Regions from separate parts of the Homo sapiens genome. Here region 2 is linked to region 1. Evidence: promoter capture Hi-C in human tissues and cell types (Jung and others, 2019). All regions are on one chromosome and are shown on one strand. The core of a region is centred on a gene start or on the middle of the fragment in contact, and the rest is flanking DNA. Distances in the headings are between cores, read along the strand shown. Region 1 holds the start of CDC42BPB (CDC42 binding protein kinase beta). Region 2 holds the start of TRAF3 (TNF receptor associated factor 3).

Region 1 (6,178 bases), core at 1,471-3,970:
AAATTTCCAGGAGGCAAGAAGAGAGAGCAGATGTGGAATTCTCAAATGCTATGTCAGATCGCCATGGGCAGATTGTCAAGAGAAATGTTTGGGAATCTGTCCCACACTCAGGAATAAAAGATGAGAGTGGAAGAGAAAGTTTGGTCAGGTGATCCTGCCAGGGGACACAGAGGACAGGCACTCCTTCCTTCACTTTAAGCCTGTGAGGGTGGCTTCCAAGGGATTTCTCAGAGAGCTCAATATTTGGCACTCAATTTGGAGGGCACAGTGGCAGGAAGGGCTCATGTGCTGTTTCAGAGGCAGAGCTATGCTGCTGTGCTGGGACCCACCTGTTCACTAATGTTGGGGCGAGGAGTGTGCCAGTGTTTCCTGAGGACAGATGTGAGCTGGGTGGATGAGCAAGCACAAGACCCATGGATCCATTTAGGTCCTGTCCAAAAGTCCCTCAGGAAGGGCAGAGGGCCCCTCCCCTCCACAGCCACCAGGTAAGCATCCACCCAGTGGCACATCTGCTTGAGTTAAGGGGACTTCAGGAGACAAAGCAGCAGGGAACCACCGAGGAGCCCATGAATGTTCCCAGGAGAGACAGGGTCAGCTTTACCCTCTGCCAATCCAGATGGGATTGGAGCCCTTCCCCACTTCTCCCTTTCTCCCTTCCCGGTGGTGGTTCTAGATGGGTGGAAGTGGGCTGAGCGAGCCGAGGGAGGTTTGGGGAAGGAGATGGCACCAGGCACAGCCCCCTTTCCCCTTGCTCATCTCAGGCCCTAAGGGGTCCAAGGGGGAAGATTTAACTTTGATTTTGAGCCAGGTGATCTGCTCAGACTTTTTAAAAAAAACTTTTAAGGTGTCATACACAAATAGTAACATGCAAATATTTAGAATACAGTTTGATGAATTTATACACATTTACAGACCCAACGTTACAAAACGGCTGTGCTGAAGATACAGAATGTTCCCAGCCCCCTAGAGGCCTCTCCTTGTGCCTCCTTCCAGTTGATACCCCAAAGGCAACCAGTACTCTCACCTCTAACGCCAGATTGTTCTCACCTGCCTTTAAGAAATGAAGGTATTATATATACATACACACAGTGACATGCACTCATCTTAAGAAGACAGTTTGAAGAATGTTTACTTATGCGTGCTCCCATGTAACTACTACCCAAATCCAGGCATAGAACATTACCAGCAGCCCAGAAGGTTCCTCCTCTTGTTCCAGTCAACAACTCCGGCATAGGCAGCCACTCCTCTTCTTCTTCTTCTTCTTCTTATTATTATTACTATTATTAAGACGGAGTCGTGCTCTGTTGCCCATGCTGGAGTGCAGTGGAGCGATCTTGGCTCACTGCACTTTCGCCTCCCGGGTTCAAGTAATTCTCCTGCCTTAGCCTCTCGAGTAGCTGGGACTACAGGCGCGCGCCACCACGCCCGGCTAGTTTTTTGTATTTTAGTAGAGACGGGGTTTCACCGTGTTGCCCAGGCTGGTCTCGAAGTCCTGAGCTCAGGCAATCCGCCCACCTCGGCCTCCTAAAGTGCTGGGATTACAGGTGTGAGCCACCGCGCCAGGCCCACTCCTATTTTTAGCTCCAGAGATTAGTTTTGCTTCAGGCTCCCTTAACGTCCTGCTTCAAACCCCTATCTGCCCCTTCATCGGCTCCACCTGGAGGCCACCGCTTCCACGGAAGCATGACCCCTTCCCCTGCACCCGCGCGCCCCAGAAGCTCTCAGATACCCCCACGATTTCGGTGACCTTCCGCAAGCTCCAGGAAAAGCCCCTCCTCTCCTGACGCCAAGGGTTTGTTGGGGTTGGGGGGTATCTCCATCAGCCTCCCTCCCCCAGCCACCCAAATTAACCAACAATCTTAGTAAATGCAGCGACTCGCTAGGCAAACCCAGCCTGGAGACAAATATCCGGCCCCTTTCCTACCAAACTGTCACACCTAGGCATTGGTCTGCAGGGAGGGCTGGACAGTGGAAACTGAAACCCTCTGCAAGCCATCACGAATCCACCGGGCACTGGGGACGCTGGCTCCCGCCTTGGCAGCATCCCCCAGAAGCCTGGGCCCTGACCCCACACCGTCTGGGCCTCAGTCTCTCATCGGTAAAGTCAGGGGTAGGGCCCGAGTCTTCCAGGACCGCTTCGAGCTGGGACAAGCCGTTTTAAATAGCCCACAACCCGCCGAGGCCATCAGAGCTGCGCCTGCCGGGCCGCCCTCGACCCCCACCTCGGCCGGGCAGGTCCGAGGCCCCGCAGGCAACATGGGCCCGCGGACTGCGGGACGGGGCTCGACGGCCTGAGATCGCGACTCTGCCTCTCCGATACTTGGGGTCGTCTTCGGCCCCGGGATCCGCGACGCGCGCGGTCGGACCCCGAATACTGAAGGCACCGGGTCCGCAGGGCGAAGGCGCACACGCCCACCAGGCGCGCTCTGCGCATGCGCGGGCTCCGCAATCTCAGCGGCCCACTCGCCCCGCCCCGCCCCCCCCACCCCCACCCCGCGCCGCTCCCCAGGCCCGGCCCTGCCTTCCCAGCATCCCGGCTCCCTACGGCAAGCGGCGAGGCCCGAGCCCGCCGGGAGCAGGGAGCCGGGCGCGGGGCGGGGCGGCGCGCTGAGGTCAGCGCGGCGGCGGCCGGCCCCGTAGTGGTTGGCTGCGCTGGTGCTGGCCGCGCCCTGGTTGGCTGCGGGCCGCGGGGCTGGGCCGCCGGGTCGGGGCTGGGGTCGGGCTCGGGCGCCGGCCGGGCTTGCGCAGCGCTAGGCTCCTCGCCGCTCCTAGTCTGCGGCGGCGGCGGCGGGGAGGGCGCGGCCGCGGGCGGGGCTGAGGGCGGCGGGGGCGGGCCGCCCGAGCTGGGAGGGCGGCGGCGCCGAGGGGAGGAGAGCGGCCCATGGACCCGCGGGGCCCGGCGCCCCAGACTCTGCGCCGTCGGGACGGAGCCCAAGATGTCGGCCTAGGCCGGGGCGCGACGACGCGGACGGGGCGGCGAGGAGGCGCCGCTGCTGCCGGGGCTCGCAGCCGCCGAGCCCCCGAGGGCGCGCCCTGACGGACTGGCCGAGCCGGCGGTGAGAGGCCGGCGCGTCGGGAGCGGGCCGCGCGGCACCATGTCGGCCAAGGTGCGGCTCAAGAAGCTGGAGCAGCTGCTCCTGGACGGGCCCTGGCGCAACGAGAGCGCCCTGAGCGTGGAAACGCTGCTCGACGTGCTCGTCTGCCTGTACACCGAGTGCAGCCACTCGGCCCTGCGCCGCGACAAGTACGTGGCCGAGTTCCTCGAGTGGGGTAAGTGCGCGCCGGCAGGGCCGGACCTGCGGCTCTGCGACCCCCGCGCCCCAGCCCGCGCATCCCCACGCCCGCCCATCCCCGCCCGGACAGACCCTGCCGCCCTCCTGCCCACCCAGCTCGTGGGCTTCGCCTCCTCTCGCTCTGGCAGCGCCCCCAGGCCCGCAGCCCATCTCTCTCCAGCCGCTCCTTGCACCCTCGTCCCTCCGCTAGCTTTTCATCCCTCCTTGCCCTCCCTAGGCTCGACATCCGCGTTCGATCGTCCCGCCCCCTCATCCTGCCCCTTGGAGCCACATCCTACGTTCCCACTCCCACCCCCTCCCCCCCGCCGGGCCCTCGCCCTGGCGGCTTCCTAGATCCACCCTCCGAGTCTGGATATCATTTCCTGCAGCACTCACTGGGATATCCGCCCCCGCCCCCGCCCCCGCCCCCGCACCTCGCCTTTGGGGTCCGGAGGCAGTGTGGAATTAGTTCCCTTTCCCCACCCCACGCTTCTCTGCGTTGTGGGGGCAGCTGGGTGTGCTTTCTGCATCTGCCTCGCCCACTGCCCCGTGGGACCCCCTTGCATCCCCAGGGAGCCCAGCTCTAACGGCCCCTCCTGGGTGACAGCCTGTCTACATCCCCTTGTTGGTCAGAGCCTGAATACCTACTTTGCTGTAACACCTTCAAGGGAATTTTAAGGTTAAGGCTTTATTTTAAATAAACCGTGCAAGAGGACTTTTTTTTTTTAATTCCAATTCTGCTAGACCTTTGTGATATTTGGAGGGGTAGCTGGAGCTATCACTTAGAAACTTTCTCATCTGAATTTTGCATGCCTTCTCTAGTTCGTTCCGGATCTATAATGTTTTAATCATTGGTCAGCTAACCTATTATGCTTTTTTAGGACAAAAATTTGATTAAACCATTTAACGATAATTAGGATCCTAAAGACAGGTAAAAGTGCAGCGTGAAACTCTTTTACTTCATCTCTCCCTAACGGGTGTGCCGGTCAAGACCCTCAGACTGTCTCACCTAAAACCACTGAGTAGGAGGAGGAAATGCGTATGTTCAGGCCAAACCTATGAAAACCTTATCCTTGGGTCATTTGCGTCACTGGGCTAGGACTGTTCAGTTCGAACCAGTAATTTCTAATCTTTGGGGCTGATAAAGCTGATATTTATACGAAGAAACAAATGAAAGTGTTCCACAGTGAGGCCTCCAGGCCTCCTACTCTACTCTGCCAGATTGGTGACTGGAATTTGGAATTTTGTTTACAAATAAAACTTAAGTTGCAATATTCTTTAGAGGGCTTCTGTTGGATTACTCTGTAGTGAAATGTTACACGGTATCTTGTGAGAGCAGCAGTAGAAAGAGGTCCTGAGATCAAGGACAGCCTGTGATGCTTTATTTCCGTGGGAACCACCATTCTTGGTTACTTATAGTATCAGTAAATTAAGAGTATTTGCTTTCTAGCGTCCTTTGTCAGTGACACGATTTCCAACTGAATAATTAATTGACTTCACCGTTGCTTTGAAAGTGAGGTCTTTGGTGCATGTTAAAATCTGAATATTTTGTTTACCTTTTCTTTCTTTTCTTTGGAGACGAGTCTCACTGTGTTGCCTAGGCTGGAGTGCAGTGGCATGATCTTGGCTCACTACAACCTCCATCTCCTGGGTTCAAGTAATTCTCCTGCCTCAGCCTCCCGAGTAGCTGGGACTACAGGCACGCACCAGCATGCCCGGCTCATTTTTGTATTTTTAGTGGAGAAGGGGTTTCACAGTGTTGGCCAGGCTGGTCTTGTACTCCTGACCTCGGGTGATCCACCTGCCTCGGCCTCCCAAAGTGCTGGGATTACAGGCGTGAGCCACTGCACCCAGCTTGTTTACCGTTCCTTTCTGATCACTCGATCTTGAAACCCACACAGTTCCACTGTCAGGTTCAACTTGGTGCACCACCTGTGAGTGTGACTGGGAAGAGGAAGCAGAGGGAAAGTTGGTTTTGCTGGGAAGATGTGGTCCCACTGGCCTCTGGCCTGGGACCTAGAAGATTAGTCTGAGGGCGGGGGCCCTGGGGGCCATTGTGCAGCCACCTCTCTCCACCAGGCATTACTGGTGGGCTTCCCTGGAGGAAGCTCTTGTCAGCATGTGTGGAGGTCATATTTTATGAGATCTGGCCTTTCCAAATCTAAACGGGAACTGTGCTGTAACATAGACATATTTTCAAAGTTGTATTCTGGCTCTTTGGAAATTGTGATTACAAACTACATTATTCTCAGGAACTCAGTTTGCACAAAAGTATAAACTTTCAATTATAGGGAAGAATGGACTTAGAAGGTGGTGTTTTAATGAAATATCAATATATTTTACAAGTATTTAAACTCATTTATGTTAACATATACGTCATTGTAACTCTAAAGTGGTGTATTTCTAGTTAACATGTGTGCAGTTAGTATTTAATGTTGCTTGGAATTGCCTGGTTGTTTCGATTGGAAAGCACAGAATAATGTTTTTGAATAAAACTATTTATAGAGCAATATTAGGTACTCTAACTTCCAAGTGGAATTACTTCTGCTCAGGAAACACATATAGGCTGTCCATCAGTGGACTGTTCAGTTTTTGGATTCACCACTCCATGACATTTGAAACCTCTGATATGTCGATTCCTGTCACGTGGAAAAGCCAACCTTTCCCCACTTCCCAAATCTTGCCAGGTATCTAATGACAATTATGGAGAATTCTTGAAACTTAAGGAAGAAAAGTAGCTGATTCAGCCCAGATTTGGAGGCTTAATGGGGAATATGTGAGGAAATTTGGAAAGTATAGGTAGTAAACTTTTTAAGTTTTAAAGGAAGATTATGGCCTGGTGCAGTGGCTCATGCCTGTAATCCCAGCACTTTGGGAGGCCAAGGTGGAGGATTGGTTGAACTCAG
Region 2 (6,360 bases), core at 3,357-5,856, 280 kb after region 1:
TGGGAGGCCGAGGCAGGTGGATCACTTGACGTCTGGAGTTTGAGACCAGCCTGGCCAAGATGGTGAAACCCCATCTCTACTAAAAATACAAAAATTAGCCAGGTATGTTGGCACACACCTGTGGTCCCCAGCTACTCAGGAGGCTGAGGCAGGAGAATCACCTGAATCCAGGAGGTGGAGGTTGCAGTGAGCTGAGATCGCGCCACTGCACTTCAGTCTGGGTGACAGAGTGAGACTCTGTCTCAAAAAAAAAAAAAAAAAATAGCCAAGCGTGGTGGCAGGCGCCTGTAATCCCAGCTACTCGGGAGGCTGAGGTAGGAGACTCATTTGAACCCAGGAGGCGGAGGTTGCAGCAAGCCGAGATCGGGCCACTGCACTCCAGCGTGGGCAACAGAGTGAGCCCCTGTTTCAAATAAAATAAAATAAATAAATAAATTTATTTTAGAGCCAGGGATCTCACTGTGTTACCCAGACTAGAATGATCCTCCCACTTCATCCTCTGGAGTAACTGGGACCACAGGTGCGCATGCCAGGCTAGGAAGGGGCTGTTTAACATTTACACCCCTTCCCCTGCCACTTTGGAGACTTTCAACCTGCAATGAAAAATGGTAGGGACAGCAAAGTGGTGCCACCCAGGTTAGGGCCTGCTGCTCTGTTCCCCTCCACAGACCATGCCCTTCACAGTACAGTATGCATGACCCACATGAGCTCCCAGTCACAAAAGGCCCTGCCTGGCAAGAGCCAAAGGCCAGCACATGCAACTTCCCAACTGGAAACCCAATGACCAGCAGCATGGCCAGCACTGCATCTACTGGCAAGGAGTGACAGGATGGCAAGCCGTCAGATCCCATCTTACCAAAACAAAGTGGGAGGGGGCCCTGTAAGAGGGACCAGATGGCCCCACTATACCAGAGCTTTCCTGACACTGGGCCTCAACTCAACGCCGCTTCCCAGAAGACTTTCTCTTTCCCTTATGGTGGATTCCCACCACGCTTCCAGAATTCTACACAATCCACTAATTCATTTCATCCTACATTTTTACTTTCTGGTTTCTTCCTGGTGGGAGAAAGTATTCTCCCCCGAAGGGTTAGCACCCTGAGGGCAGGATGGTAGATTTGCATTTTTCCTTATCCTTCCTGCCACAAGCTCCTGTCCTGGTCTGTCTCAGTCAAGTATCTGCTGGTTTCTGGCATGTCCCTTCACTGTGCACAGGGGCCAAGATGGCCTATATCCCTGCAAATCACACCCTAGCAGATGGGTGCTGTGTCTCACTCTTCCCAGCACGGTAACCAGAACATTATGAGAACTCAGGGCACATTAACTGAATATTAATTAAATGAGAAAAAGACTCCCAAGTCCCAATTAACAATCCACTTATCTCGAGGAATACAGAATGCAGCATCGATTCCAACCTGATTCCTAAAGTTGATAGAAACCAACAGGCATCAACATTTATGACATCCCACTACCTGCCAGCCTACTCCAAGTCATCTGTACAGGCCGACAATAAGCTTCACCGAAAGAAAAAAAAAAAAGGTATTATGCTTAATAGTAAAAAACTCTGCCTTCTCCCTAGGGTGGTCTGTCTCCCCACCCCCTTTCCTGGAATAGTGTTGTGCAGAACTTAGTCAATAAAGGCTTTCTCAAATGAGAAAGCCATTTTGTATTTTAATTATGAATAATAAATTTTACACAAGCACACATAACATTTTCTCGGTTTTTTTTTTCTTTTCTATTTAAAACTGCATTTTCTTCTATTTCCATTCGCGTCTTTGGGACCCAAAGCCTGCTGCGGTGGTGCAAACCACATGGCACCTATCCCCTGTACCTCTCCCGGGCGTCTGGGCCTCCCTCATTCTGGCTTCATCACTCCTGCTGAAAGCAAGTCTAAGCATCATTTCCACAATCAGGCCTCGGCTGCTTCTCTCTGGTAGCCTTCCAAATCCTCTGGCCTCACCTCCTTCTTTCTCACTCTTCCCACTTTCTCTGTATCTGAAGTCAGTTATTATGACTCTTCCATGCAAAAAAAGAACACCAAGTGATTTTTCTTCCTCCATGAACACTCGCAAAGCAGCAGCAAGGGGTCCTGATTCCATGGAGTGGACCCTAAGGGCCTTGGCCACGAGACGTCGCCTCTGCTAAGTTAACAGTTCTTTAAACTGACCATTGCAAGGAAATTCAGCTATTGCATAATACTTGATAGGTTAGATCACTTGCTGTTTGGAGAGTCTTGCTATATGAAGATGAGAAAATAGAGTTGGGCAAATTTAACGCAATTTCCTTTGTTTGCTTGAGCTAGCTCAGACTTGCAACGCCACAGTGGCAGTTTTATCTTTCTTAAAGTACAGCTTTAACATCATAAAAAAGGATTTTAAGGGAGTGATCAATCATTCTCACCTAACCTGACAATATCATTAGCATACGTATCCTGACAATACCCTAGAAAGGTCCTTCTTGAGTTGCACAGTGAAAAATTAAAGGGATTCTTGCAGGAGTATTTAGAGAATCAGAATCCGCAACGCAGGCTCAGATGTCTCAGTTAAATGAAGGACTTTCTTCAAGGCACAAACAAGAGTAGGGATATTTTGATGGTATTAACAGAAACAACTGGCCACTGTTACTGCCTGTTTCCAGTGAAATGTCTTTACAGCCTCTCACTGAGTGAAGCCATCTTATTAATTCCAAAAGAAGGGACAGCATCCAAGGAAAATAATTGGTCTTCTTTCCCCTCGCAGAGAAATTCACATGAATGTCTCAAAAAAAAAAAAAAAAAAAAAAAAAAAAAGCTGGAATTCTCCCTGGCCAGCTCTCTCTCCTTTCCTGGCTTCTGCATTGACAGCTGGAACAGATGGCGTCTGGGTGAGACACCTTACATCTTAACCCTTATCCATGATAAGGTCTGATTTTCACCAGCGATGCTGGAATCCAAGGTCTGTCAGGGTTTCCGTCATGAGCACCCACTCACAGGATTTCCAGTCCCATGTGATGTTTTCCAGTTTTCATATCGATAAGGCTTATCTTGTTTTGGCCAAAGAATTTTCATCTTTAGACTAATTCTTAACATTTACATTGTCACAACGCGGCGAAAAGGTACACATTTCCTCTCATTTGAGAAAAGAACGCTGTACACTATTTTGCCAGACATCCTACATATGATGCAGTCTGTTCACAGGCCATTTTCAAAGACGTGAGAGACATGAGAAGATCTCAGGACGAACTGATGGTCCACTTGGCCATTCCCTACAGTAAGAATTTTATAGACAAATACAGGGTAACAGCAAACAACATTTCCAAACGCTCCGGCAGTGTGTAGTCGCAGCAAATGCTAGGAAAAAAAATAAATAATGGCTCCTCTTCAGTTGTATGCCGTGAATGTAAATTAAGAAGCCGCTACAACGCTCGACATAACCTTTCTGACGCCACAAAAATGAATGAATTATATCCATACACACACACAGGCACACACACCACGCACCACGCATCACATGTCATTCTGAAAACTGATTCTGAGCTTAATTCGAAAAACGTGAAATACAACTGGTCCCGTCAACAGCTCGTAATCTGAAGGTTTCTTGCATTTCCAAGCACGTCCATAACACCTCATCCGTTTCCAGTTTGTTACTGTTTCCAACCGAAGGGAGAGAATTTTCCACACAGAATTATCTCCTCGGGTCCAAATACTAGACCGAAGTCCCCACACGGGGCTGGCTGGCGGCGTGGAACCGGCCAGCCCGCCGAGAGCCGCCTGGCGCCCGCGGGGAAGACGCAGAGCCCGCGGCCAGGAGCCGCCCGGTGCCCCGGGAGTCGCCGGCCCTCGGCGGCCGCGCGAGGGGGATTCGCGCCCTCTGCCCATACCCGGACCCCCGCGCCGCCCGCCAAGCGGTCGGAGGCGCCTCTGAGGCGGAATGACTCAGGACCAACTTTCCAATAACGCCCGGGCCCCCCCGGCCGGCCCGGGCAGCGCGCTCGGCCACGCAGCCCCTGAGCCGCCCGTCCCCCCGCGTGAAACCCGCGGCCCCGCGGGGTGCCGGGTCCTCAACGCCAGCGGGGGTCACGGCCGTAGCGAGGCCTGCGCGCCCCGTTTCCTGAAAAGGTGCGGGCGCCCCGGCCCCCTCGGGCCCCGAGCCCGGCCTCCGGGACAAAGTTTGCCGAAGTTGAGGCGTCCGGAGGCGGGAGGCAGCCCGGCTGGGGCGCGGGGCCAGGCTGAAGCCGCGCCCCGCCGTCGCCGCTGGGACGGGCCGGGCCTGCGCCGCGCCGGGCCCGCGCCGGGCAGCCCCGAGGCCCCCGGGCCCCGCCGCCCAGGGCGCGGGATGGAGGCGACGGGGATGGAGGCGCCCGGCCGCGCGCCGGAGGCCCGCCCGCCCGCCGCGGCCCCTTACCTCGCGGTCCGTCGCCGCTCGGCCGGCTCAGGGGCGCCGGGCGCGTCCTCCGCCGCGGTCCGCAGCGTTCTGCTCCCCGGGCTGCCCCATGGCGGGGGGCGGGGAAGAGCCGGCGGCCGCCGCGGCTGCCGCCGGCTGGAAAGTCCCGGCTGGGCTGCAACCCCGGCTCGCGCACGCGGCGGCCGCGCCGCGCTCCCTCGCTCCCTCGCTCCCTCACGCAGCCCCGCGCAGGCACTTCCTCTCGCGCGCTGGAAATCCCCGGCGCGCCCGCCGCCCCGCCCCCGCCGCCCGCGCGCGTGGGAGCGGCAGGAGCCCGCGAGCGCCGCCGGCCCCACGCGCCCGCCGGCCCCCCGCGCGCGCCCGCGACCCGTTGCTAAGGGCCCTAGCGCCCGGCGGCCGCCCGCCCGGCCTTAGCAACGGCGGCGCCGCGGCGCGGGGCGGGGACGGCCCCGGGCGCCCCCCGCCTCCCTCCCGTCCCCGCCGCGCGCCCCGCGGGCCTCCTCGCTCTGCGCCGCCCCCGCCGCGCCCCCGCCGCCGCGCGTCCCCGCGTCCCCGCCTTTCCGGGTCAAAAAGCCACGCAGGCCGCGTGGGGGCCGAGAGGTGCTGGCGCCGCTCCTCCCCGCGGCCACCTCGCCCGCACCCCCCACGCCAGCATAGCATACGCAGCCCCCGTGCGTGCACGCCCGTGTGCCCATGGCCACACGCGACCCCTACGCACACGCACGGGTCCGATATGCGGCCCCCCGCACTGTCGCGGACGCATACACGACGGTCACATTCCCCTCAAGCGGACACGCACACACACGCTCACCAACACCGTGCGCACGCGTACCAGGCCACGCACCCTCGCGCACACGCAGGTGGGGCTGAGGGTGACTCAGGCCGTGGAGCCCCTTTTCGCATGCAGAGGGCAGGGCTCCACATTAGTTTGGTGGCACTTTCCTTTCTCCCTCCCTTGGACCCTCCCACGCCCCCGGAGTGGTGTCTTGCTCACGGGTGGACAGGGTAGCCAGTTTGCCACGTGCCCCCAGCGTCCTCGGCGGTCCTGGCTGCCCCTGCGCCCCCTGCACCCTCCACCAGGCCGCTGGGGCCTGCGCATTTCTCCCGAGGCCTCTGCCTTCTGCCCCAAAGGCATCAGTGGTGTGTCAGTGATTCACCTAGGCCCACCAAGGCAGCACCCAGCCTGGCTGGGCCTGGCGAGGTGGGAAGCGAAGGGAGGGCTTCTGGGAGGCTCTGGGCCAGCTGAGGGGTGAGGCCTTCGCTGGAGTTTGCAAGTCAGTGGTGAGGGGACAGAAAGGACTTTGCATTTTTCACTTCTCAAGAAGGCTTATAAAGAGCCCTACCCCAGAGCTGAGACCAGTGTGAGTAGCCAAGGCCAGTCTGCCTTCTTGTATTGCTCCAGTGACTCATGTGAGTGGAGGCAGGAAGTCCAGCATCTCCTCCTACAGCTTCACCCATGGAACGTTCCAGAACCCCAGATAGTCCGACCTGGCTGCTGGAAGTCTATCTGGACATCAGAGACATTGGACCATGTCTCTGGCTCCATTAGCCCAACAGATGCTTGTTCTACAGCCACACTCACCAGGCCACAGTGGCACCCCCGTCTGCGCCACAGGCACAGCTCTTTTAGAGGTGACAGGCCCGCCTTCGCCGTCCCTCACAGGGACCTATGGACTCCAGCGGTCTCCCCCACCCCCATGGTGGACTCCCCTTGGGAGCCTCAGGTGCCCTTTCTTGCCTGTCAGGAGTTGGGATGTTACTGACCTCAGGCTCAGGGTCCCAACCACTTCCCATAGCCCAGGCACTGAGGCCTCCCATGTCCCCAGCCCTGCTTAGCCCACAGTCCTGGCACCCTGTCGACTGGGGCCCACTCCCAACGCCTGCCTTATGCTGTGTGTTACCTATGGCCTGGTTTAACTTTGCCAAAATCAGGAAAGACTCCCTTTCCTAGGCTGGACTATTTTTGGTTGTTTTAAAAGAA

The links. The method cuts DNA at HindIII sites, captures the fragments that hold promoters and counts their contacts. A contact is called where the count stands out against the background at its distance.
Region 2: the fragment with the promoter of TRAF3 here is called in contact with the fragment with the promoter of CDC42BPB in region 1 in 1 of the 25 tissues and cell types used here (liver).

What each region holds. Positions count from the first base shown.
Region 1 is chr14:103,054,091-103,060,268 of GRCh38, reverse strand. CDC42BPB (CDC42 binding protein kinase beta) reads left to right here and starts at 2,720. Exons shown (of 37, transcript NM_006035.4): 1 at 2,720-3,270. The coding sequence starts at 3,096. RefSeq lists an enhancer at 1,583-2,233 and silencers at 2,229-2,338, 2,379-2,878, 2,969-3,048. The HindIII fragment of the contact is 24,533 bases long and covers 1-6,178 here.
Region 2 is chr14:102,775,695-102,782,054 of GRCh38, reverse strand. TRAF3 (TNF receptor associated factor 3) reads right to left here and starts at 4,606. Exons shown (of 12, transcript NM_145725.3): 1 at 4,380-4,606. RefSeq lists silencers at 3,764-3,823, 4,064-4,113, 4,324-4,933, 5,024-5,083 and an enhancer at 5,794-6,033. The HindIII fragment of the contact is 12,756 bases long and covers 1-6,360 here.